Regions from separate parts of the Homo sapiens genome. Here region 1 is linked to region 2. Evidence: promoter capture Hi-C in human tissues and cell types (Jung and others, 2019). All regions are on one chromosome and are shown on one strand. Each heading gives the region's core, a stretch centred on a gene start or on the middle of the fragment in contact. The rest is flanking DNA. Distances are from core to core; before and after follow the strand shown.

Region 1 (4,800 bases), core at 1,370-3,869, 390 kb before region 2:
TGCATACAACATAAATGGTTTCACATGTTTCAGATCACTATATGATGTAGAGATCCTTAAGGAAACTCTAATATTCAGAAACACCAAATCTTAAAAACAGCTATATTAGGATAGATTGTTTGCTATGTTAAAGGACTCTTTATGAGTAGAATAATTTACTGAATGTAGATCATTCTGTAGTAGATTTCATTTACTACTGAGATAAGATTCATTACTTAGCTGTTAGCACATTTAAAATTTTATTCCATTACAAAAATTTGATGTTCCACAACTTTTCAGGGCTTTCACATCCTATTATATCAAATAAAACACTATTATAAAATAAAACAAAAAAACAAAAAAAAACCCCAAATCCTAATGGTTCTCAAACCTTTTGGTCTTAGGACCCTTTTATACCTTAAGATTTGAGGACCCCAAAGAGTTTTTCTTTATATAAGTTATATCTATCAATATTTACTGTATTAGGAATTGGATATATCTGTTCATTACTTCATTTTAAAAATAACCCATTATACATTAACATATGAATAACACATTTTTGTGAAAATAACTGTTTGCCAAAACAAAAAAAATTATGAGAAAAGTGGCATTGTTTGATATTTTTGCAAACCTGTTTCATGTCTGGCTTAACAGAAGACAACTAGGTTCTCATATCTAGCTTCTGCATTCAATTGGTTGGGTTATCACATATCACATCGTAGCCTCTGAAGAACCCCACTGTACACTCTTGAGAGAATGAGAGTGAAAAGCAAATAATGTCATTATTATGAACACAGTTTTGACCCTCTGAACCCATGGAAAGGACCTTAGGGGCCCGCTGGGGCCCCAAGACCACACTGGATAACCAATGTCCTAGTTGAAAAGAAGTTTTTACAGGCCTGCTTTAAAATTCTCTTCTGAGAGCTGAGTGAAGAAATTTATCAAACACCCAACTCAGGCCTCTCCAGTCTCATGAGTGACACATTTATAAATAAGAAGCTAAGGGTGCCACTTACCCTCACAGCTTTCCCTGTGAATACTGAGCCAGTTGCACTGCTTTTGAAGGCTCTCATCTGGTTCAGTTCCAGAAGCCCTTTGTGATACTGTAAGGCAATTCGGGCTGTCACTCCTGAGCCAGTGGGACTTCTGTCAACCTGTTTCAGAATAAATGAAGACAGAATGTTCATAGTGTGTTCCATATTACCTGGCTTTTGTCCCTAAACATTACAGTTTTAATACCTGTTCATCTGCAAAAACACAAATGTTGGTGGTTGGTTCCTTGGTATAAGCATCTTTTCCATCTGTTAATATAGTTCCATATAAAAAGGCAAGGTCTTCACTATCAGGATGATTAATTTTAAACTGCAAGTAACAAAAAAAGATCACATGCAAAATAAATATTTTGATTCAAATTTATAAATAATGCAGATGGGTCATTCTTAGACATAACTTTTTAATCCTTATCATTTTTAAAATACCTTTTTGGGCAACGTATACTAATTGCTAGAAATTATGTCTTTGTCTAGATGAAGAAACATAGTTTTACTGCAATTTATAATTCTTATCATACTTTGAGTCCCTTCTAAGGAAGCTGTCCTGCATATAGCCTTTGCTAAAAAAGCAGTCCTATTTTATACACCCCTCCCACCCCAAATACACATAGTCTTTGCAGCACTGACCCCAGGATGGTCAATCCACAGGCTGGCGATGGCTGCTCAAACAGGATGAGCTAAGGCAATCATAGTCTTATTCTCAGGAGCTTAAGGAGGATAATGTGGGAAAATCAGGCTCTGAGTATCTAGAGCTGAAGTTAACACCAATGATAGAGACAAAGGCTGTGAGAGGATATAACATTCTGTAAGAATGCAGAAACTATTAGGCAAGAGAAACAATTGGAGGAAAAAAAGATTTATTGTAGACGATGAAGTCAGTTGATTCATCAAAAAGCAGCAGATATGCACACAAAGAAGCAGGCACTGGCAGGGTAGCTAAGTCACTCAATGGTAGATTCAGGCCCAAATATGCAAAGCTACTTGTTCTTGGAAGTCTAGTTCTTTAACTTTTCCTGGATTTCTGCAAACATTTACAGTATGACTGAGATTGCTATAATCTGACTTCCCTTGTATATGCTTACAATTAGTACTTTCTACTTCCAGTTACATGTCATTTAAAGCAATGGAACAGCTTTGGGTTCTTAACATCCAAAGAGTCCATCTGAAACCAAGTTAAAGCGGCCTGCAGATTGAATCTTTGTTCTCCATCCTCTTAAAGTGATACGCCCCACCTCCACTATAGCACATTCCAACATAACACTGTTCACAGGTATGCTCGCTTCCCCAACTGGAGCTAGCTCCTCAAAGGTGGGGTTTGTTCTTTCTTCGAGTCTCCAGGATCTAGCAGAATGTCTAACATATATACAGTATGTTTGTGGTAAATGTTTGTTAAAAGAGTGAATGAATTAAGATGAATTTATATTAACTTTAACTCTCCATCCCCATGGCCTTTTCCTAAATCTGCTTCAGCAGTGTGAATAGTCAACAGTTCACAGAGTAATTAATTGTACTGTCTGATACATCAATAACAGAACTTGTCCTCATTTTTCTCAGAATCCTTCCTCCCTCAAAGTCCACCCCTTGCCATCTTGTTGAGTTCAAACTCAAATGAGAAGTACAAAATTACACCTTTTATTAAGATATCCATGACTTTTTCTCTTGAATTCATGAAAAATTAGGAGAAATTATTTTGTGCCAAATTGTTAACTCAGACTATTAGCTGTCCTGCTTAATGGAACAGAAAACTGATGTAAATTCAGAGCTTCAAAAGTTGCTATCATAATATAATTGCACATATTGGTACTGGCAGTACCAGAAAAATAATTTAGAATACTGATACAGTGTATATTCTCATTTTAAGTTATAAATTATTTTAAAATAAAGCTTCAGAAAATGATAATTATTCGTACATTAGACACTATCTTACACAAGTTACTTTTTACTACTAATAAATTCTCACATACTAAATTCTCACGTACTAAACATTCAAATACTGTACATGTGTTTTATTTATAGGTCCCAATTTCAAGGTAAAATGTGCTTCACTCGTGCTAGAAGTGAAAGAATATCCTAGAATTATTATCTAAACTGATTTTATCAAATTAGCTTTCCCAAGTAAAAACTAGAGTTATTTAAGTAGTTATTTGAGTAACTTCTTAGCAATGTAGGAAAAAAATAATAGGAATTAATGTTCTCTATGAAATAAGAAAAAGGCTTAAATCTATTCTGTACACTATATTTTACATTTATTATTTTCAAGTTTAACAGAATGACCACACACATGCATTTAAAATTTGCAGAATTCTATAAATATATTTCTACACATTTAAGGAACTATAAACTATATTAGTATGTATGTATTATTAAATTTAGTAACTGCTAGGTGTGGTGGCTCACACCTGTAATCCCAACACTTTGGGAGGCCGAGCTGGGAGAATCACTTGAGGCCAGGAGTTTGAGGCCATCCTGGGCAACATAGTGACATCCTGTCTCTATATAAACACACACACACACTCACACAAACACAGATTTAGCTGGGTGTGATGGGGCATGCCTGTGGTCCCAGTTACTCTGGAGGCTGAGGCAGAAGCATCATTTTGAGCCTGGGAATTTGAAGTTACAGTAAGCTATGATCACACCACTGCACTACAGCCTGGGTGACAGAGCAAGACCCTGTCTCAAAAAAAATAATATTATCATTTACTGAACATTTACTATTGGCCAGACACTACTCTAAGTCCTTTACATGTATTGACTTATTTCATTCTCACAACCCTACAAAGCAGGTATTTTTTAATTTCCATTTTGCAGACAGGAAAACTGAGGCATATGGAGGTTACGTAACTTGCCCAAGGTTATATACGTTACCAGTGGTAAAGCTAGAACTCATAGATAGTTTTGCTCTAGAGCAGGAATGTCCAATCTTTTGGCTTCTCTGGGCCACACTGGGAGAAGAATTGTCTTGGGCCACACATAAGATACACTAACACTAACGAGAGCTGATGAGCTAAAAAAAAATTGCAAAAAAACTCATAATGTTTTAAGAAAGTTTACAAAATTTGTGTTGGGCCACATTCAAAGCCATCCTGGGCTGCATGTGGCTCACAGGCCACGGGTGGGACAAGCTTGCTCTAGAGCCTAAGATTTTAATAAGTACCCTATTCTTAGTACTATTAATAATTTAAACATCATTTAATTTTCTTTATAGACATAATAATGTATATTTCCTCCATGCCACAGAGAAGGGAATTGGTTATGAAGGCAGAGTATTACTGACCTGAGCTTTCACTGCCTCTGTCACTGCACTCGCTGCATCCACAAGGTCCCTGGTCTTTGCAGAACAAATGTCTAGTCCTAACTTTTCAGCAGTAACAAATGCATAAAATGCACCGCCATATGCAATGTCCACCATCACCTTTCCATGTCCAGGAACATCCACCATGAGATCTAAAAAAAAGATGTGTTTGGAAAGAAGATGTGTTTGTTAATAAGTATTTTAGCAATAAAATTCAAAGGATTTTTAATATGTTTATTTTTCAAGAGGGATGTTCTTTTCCTATCATAAAAATAATGAAGTAAAAATCCGTTTTTTAAATGAATAAGCATCGAGTGAATAATAGCTAGATGCATCATTCTATTTTTAACTTGATGATTGCAGAAGTTATAAACTAAAGCCATGCTTTCCCTAACTCATACAGACATATTCATTAACTTCCCTGAGGATCTTTTCTAGGAAACACCCCTGAGGCCGAGAGAGGGAAACCCAAGG
Region 2 (5,332 bases), core at 2,748-5,247:
TACCTTCTGAAGGGGATTACCTGGAAATGACTCCAAATAAAAAATGTCTACACATCTGTCAAACACATCCAAAAGTGAAGACAGTTAATCTAGCCTCCAAATGGAATTTAGAAGATGTTTTTCCAATACAGCATCACATTTAGCATTTGAAAAATGAGGACATATAAACAATATGGTCCATGTAAAGTAAATTGGAAAATGCTTTTTGTAATTATCTTGAAATTTAAGTCAAATTATTTATAAATTGATATCACTGCAGCAAATCATATTGGACTGATTTTTCCTGACCATTCTCCATCATGTTCTTGATTTTGCTTTCCATATATTAAGCAGTCAATGAGTTAATTTCCAAAGCAGGCAATGAGTTAACCTCTATTTCATTTTGTTCAGATGTTCTATTTAAAATTCTTTCTTTAAACAAAGGACCATTCTTTTTTCCTTTTGTTATTGTATGCTCCTTTTGAATAGTTTCCAGTAATAAAATAACTGATCATGAAAAAACAGAACAGTTGCTCTTAACATTCTTTGTATAAAGTTATTAGATGATGGCACTTTTATGATTAACAACGCTAACATGTCGTAGCCTACCTACGGTGTATTAAATGTTCCCTTGTCAACACACATAATTTCACATGTCCATTATCAGTTTAGACATGAAGTTGTAACTTTAGAAGACAGTGTTATTTTGATGAGACTATTTCCACGCCACAAAAGGGACAGAAGCAATGAGAACACCTGAAAATAGAGGATTGATGGAGTTTTATGGTGCAGTTTTAATAATGTTTAAACTTATATTCATTCCAGGACACTGCTGAGACATATTTTTGGAAATGTTCCTGGGATAATTTTAATTACCATCAATGTATAAAAATAAATAACAGAATATCTGTCCAGATGGCATGATTGGTGATGTTTTTCAGAAAAACAGTTATTAAAACATCAATATCTGTCTTATATTTCCATCTAAAAAAGAAACAAAATCTGTTTACAGTGCATCACACTCAAAGTCTAAGTTACTTCTTAGTTTGAGTTGAGTCCCAAAAAAGCACCACTCTTTTAAAAAAATAAAGCACTCTTCTGCCATGTGGGGACACAGTGAAAAGACAGCTGTGTGTGGACCAGGAAGCAGACCCTGACCAGACACCAAATCTACCTTGATCTTAGATTTCTCAGCTTCTAGCACTGTGAGAAAATAAATTTCTGTTTATAAGCCAAAAAAAAGTAAATTAAGAAATACAGTGTAAAGTAGTGTGCTTAATAGGCATCTCTGATACAATTGAGGGCTCACCTGCTAACTTTGCTTATAGCAATAGAACTGCCAAAATAACAGACCAGGAAGCTGGACAAGATTTGTTTGGAATTTTAAGATCTAGTTATTTATTTATACAGCATTTCTGGCGTTTGAGTCTCTTATAGCAGCACATCCGGTCTACTTAATAAGAAACACAGAGATTTAAGACATTAACCAATCAACAACTATATCAGAAATTCCTTCTAGCCACAATCATAAACTAAAAAATTTCTATATAAATATGCAAAATATGTGCTCCTTCCATCTTTCTTCATTCTTCTCCCATCCAAACGTAGTATCATGTTTGATTTTATTACTATATTTGTTGCCTAGGATAGAAAACCCCAAACACATTCAATAAAGCAAGGTATTTCTATAATAATAATACTAAAAATGCAAAATGCATTGTTATTTACTACAGCCACCTTTCTGTAACAATGCACTGTACATTTTGAAATTGCTAAAAGAGTAAATTTTAAACGCTTTTACCACAAAAAAAAAGTACATGAGATGATGGATTTGTTAGCTAATCATTTGACAATGCAGACATATGTCAAAACATCACACTGTACCCCACAAATATATATTCTAAGCATTTCCTATATAATAACTTTTGTGGATATGTTACTGAGCATGGGGCACTTAGCTTCCTTTTTCTAGTTCACATAATCTTAGTGGCACTAATAGGAGGTGGGTAATGTTTCATAAAGAAACAATTTACTTTGATTACAGTGGATAAAGATTCTGAACTATGAGCAGTCTATCCTCAACAAAGAATGGTAAAGACAAAAACTACCTTCCTTTGTCTATTATCATTTGCCATCTTCTTTTGCAATTATAAAGAGTTTTGTTTTCACTTGGATGCAGAAGTTGAAAGAGAGACTGAGCAGCCATTCTTAGATTTAAATCCTCCCCCACTCCTAGGGATATAATAATTAATATATAACCTTTGGCGTTTGGCGTTGGGGCTTTTGAGTACTTTTCTTTCTTTCTTTTTCTTTTTTCTTATATAGGGTCTCCACTTTTTCTCTTCCTTTCAGGATATTGACAATTTTTATTCAACGCATTCTCCAAACCTCTTTTCCCCAGCTCAGATCTTCTGTACCAGGGCAGTTAATTACGATTACCTTAGACATTCCACATAACCCTTAAGAGAAGCTTACGAAAAGGGGTTTCTTTAAATCAACCACCAAGAGCACACACACCAGTCCCACTCCCCTTCCCCTCCTCTGGGAGCACCCCCCACCCCAGGCCTTCTAGCTCTACATTGCCAAAACTACACAACTCCCACTCCACCATAGCAAAGCTTTCTCAGGAAAGAGCACCACACAGCATCCCCTTTCCTCTCCCTGGAAACAGCGTTAACCAGGCCGGCAGCCTCAAAGCGCGCTTCCTGGATCCTTTGACCAGGATGCGCCAGGGGCCTGGGCTCCCGCTGGACACTGGCGCGCTCAGACTTTGAATAGGGCGTCAGGCGAAGAATGGCCAAACCCAGGGCAATTTCCGGGGTGGGGGGGGGGGGGCGCTTAGACTGCTGGTAAACTGTACCACGTCCACTCACCACCACCCAAGCCCTCCAACCCACAGCCAGGCCCGCCGCACTTAGGACTTGAAGTTTCAATGCTCCCTGCAAGGTGGGGCCATCCGGGCAGCGGCGAAATACAGGTTTTGGGCGGGGGCAGCCACAGCACCCAACCCTCTTGCAAAGCTGTGCCTCCCGAATTAGGGACAAACTCCCTGGGATTTGTTTTCTGCGGGAGAAAAGGCGGAGGGATGTGGGGGGAGTAAGGTGTGGTGGCGATTCGTGGAGGGCAAGGGTAAGGGGCAGTTACAGCCACATCTCTGCCCTGGACAGAGCCGGGTCCAGGGGCCGCGGGCCTGCCCGCCGCTCGGTTGTCAGCATCTCCTGTAGCCGGCGCGCACACTGCGCGCAAACACGCCCCCCAAAATCCCCACAACCTGTCAAACGGGCCCTACAGCTCGGAGCCTCCTGGCAGGAGGGAGAAACTTGTACCCAGACTCGCCAGCAGCCAGAATGCTGCTGTTTGCCTATGAGAACAATTTTTAAAGCGGAAATAATCATGATAATGAAATAAAAGGATCAAAAGCATCTTGACTTTTTCTGAGCCTTTGGGAAAAATAAAATTGTTGTTTTCTACCAGCCCGCGAATATTCCCAGTCGCCCGTGGCGACGCGGGGGTGGGGTCGGCGCTCAAGGCAGAAAGCGCGAGGCAGGTGCCCAGGAGAGCCGCGCAGAAGGGGACTGACTGGGGGGCCCTGGTCCCCGACGCCATTTGAGGGGCAGCGGCGCCCGCCTTACCTGTGGATGCAGTTTCCATGGCAACGGGCGACTGCCGGGCGGGGCCCGAGCCGGCTTCCCGCGACGCCGCTTCCCGGGCCCTGGCGCCCAACCCCGGGCTGGGCTCCCCAGCCTGCGGCGCCGGCGTGGCCCCTTTCGGCGTCACCGCTTCGTTCTCCCCCTCCCCCCGGTGCCTGAGCCACTGGGACCCGGGGCCGGCCAGCGGCAGCAGCTCGTCCTGCGGATCCCCCGGCGCGGCCATGGCTGGCGGTCCCCCGGCGCGGCGACGGCGGCTTGGCTGGGCAGAGGCTCGGTGGCTGCGCGGGCGCTCCCTGCTGCTGTCCCCGGAGGGACTCGGCGCTCAGGGAAGCTGCGGTGTCTCAGCGTCGCCGCCGCCTCTGCTGCAACTCCGCCGAGCCGCTGCCTGCCGCTCTTCCCGCTTCAGCTCCTCCTTCTCCCCCCTCCTCTTCCTCCGGCCCCGCCGCGGCCGCTGCCTGCGCTCCTCCTCCTACTCCACTCGCTGCTGCCGCCGCTGCTTCGCTATTCCCAATCCTGTTATTACGCAGGTGAAAATGGCCTGCTTGGTCCGGGTCCTCCTGGGCACGTCAGCCCCCAACCTGCAAATGGCAGGCCCCGGTTAGGGGATGTGCCAAATCCACTCGAATCTTCCTCTCGTTTGGGGAGGAAAAAAAAGGAAGAACCAGCAAGTAGCAGCAGCCACCAGCAGCGTCGCCTTCCCAACTGAGAAAGTTAAGCCCCGACTGGTGTCCTGGGTCCCGAGGCAAAGAGGGAAAGCTAGAGAACTCAGGGCCACAGTTCTGAGAGTGACCAGTATGAGTTGTGGAGGGGACACAGGTCTGAACGGGGAAGGGGTGGAGATGGGTTCTGATGGCAGATGGAGACCAGGGAAGCTGCAACCCCGCGGTTAAATCCTGCGTTTCCAGAATGGGCCTGAAAATAGTGGAGTAAAGAAATGAGTTATCAGGACAGCCTCCAAAAAAAGCTTAACAGATCTCACCCTGACCAGCCCTGAGGGCAAACAGGGTGTCAATAGGCAAGGACAAAAGCTGTACATTTGCTTTCAGAAACACTGAGCCAAGGCCATCCTAATCATAAGCTGTCTGTGCAGTCCGTTGTATTTCAGAATTTGGACATTCCATGAAGCTTGCATCTTTTTCTTTACAGTTCACTGTGATAAAATGGAAGATAGTCAGCAAATAAACCCAAACTCAGAGGAGGAAAGTGACTTGCCTTATCATATGTTGTGCCCATACGAAGACCCATCTTTTCAAATGTCTTGTGTTTTATTGGTTCCCAAGTTGTTTATATAATAAAATAATGTGCCTTTAAAAACTAAGATTCACCACAACACACAGGGTGAAGGAATAGGTTTTTCTGCTGTTTCTTCTCTAGGAAAGGTGGGCGCAGACGGTACCGCACACACTGTGAGACTGTGGGACTCTTGGCCACCATGCGCATCTTGAGGATTTCATACCTGTCCATTGGTATATTCAAAGGCCAACTTCAGGACCATTCAGGTGCTCCTCAATAATGCTAAAATGAAAAAGCCCAGAGTCTGCCTAATCTTTTGTTCTGCTAGTGCACTAATGTTCAAAAGATGACAATAAATTAGAGAAAAATCATTCACTAAACAATAAATATGGCCTCCTGAAGCCAGATATCCCTGGAAATCTGATGGTCACCAAAATTTTACATTTTTGACATACTCAAAATTATGTCTC

Evidence for each region. The method cuts DNA at HindIII sites, captures the fragments that hold promoters and counts their contacts. A contact is called where the count stands out against the background at its distance.
Region 1: a fragment that was not itself captured here is called in contact with the fragment with the promoter of RTN1 in region 2 in 1 of the 25 tissues and cell types used here (hippocampus).

Annotation. Positions count from the first base shown.
Region 1 is chr14:59,474,874-59,479,673 of GRCh38, forward strand. L3HYPDH (trans-L-3-hydroxyproline dehydratase) reads right to left here. Exons shown (of 5, transcript NM_144581.2): 2 at 4,309-4,478; 3 at 1,219-1,341; 4 at 996-1,133. Among named protein-coding and RNA genes, the nearest start is that of L3HYPDH, 7.1 kb to the right of the region's middle. The HindIII fragment of the contact is 4,181 bases long and covers 530-4,710 here.
Region 2 is chr14:59,866,779-59,872,110 of GRCh38, forward strand. RTN1 (reticulon 1) reads right to left here and starts at 3,998. Exons shown (of 9, transcript NM_021136.3): 1 at 3,612-3,998. The coding sequence starts at 3,852. RefSeq lists a silencer at 3,907-4,006. The HindIII fragment of the contact is 4,177 bases long and covers 988-5,164 here.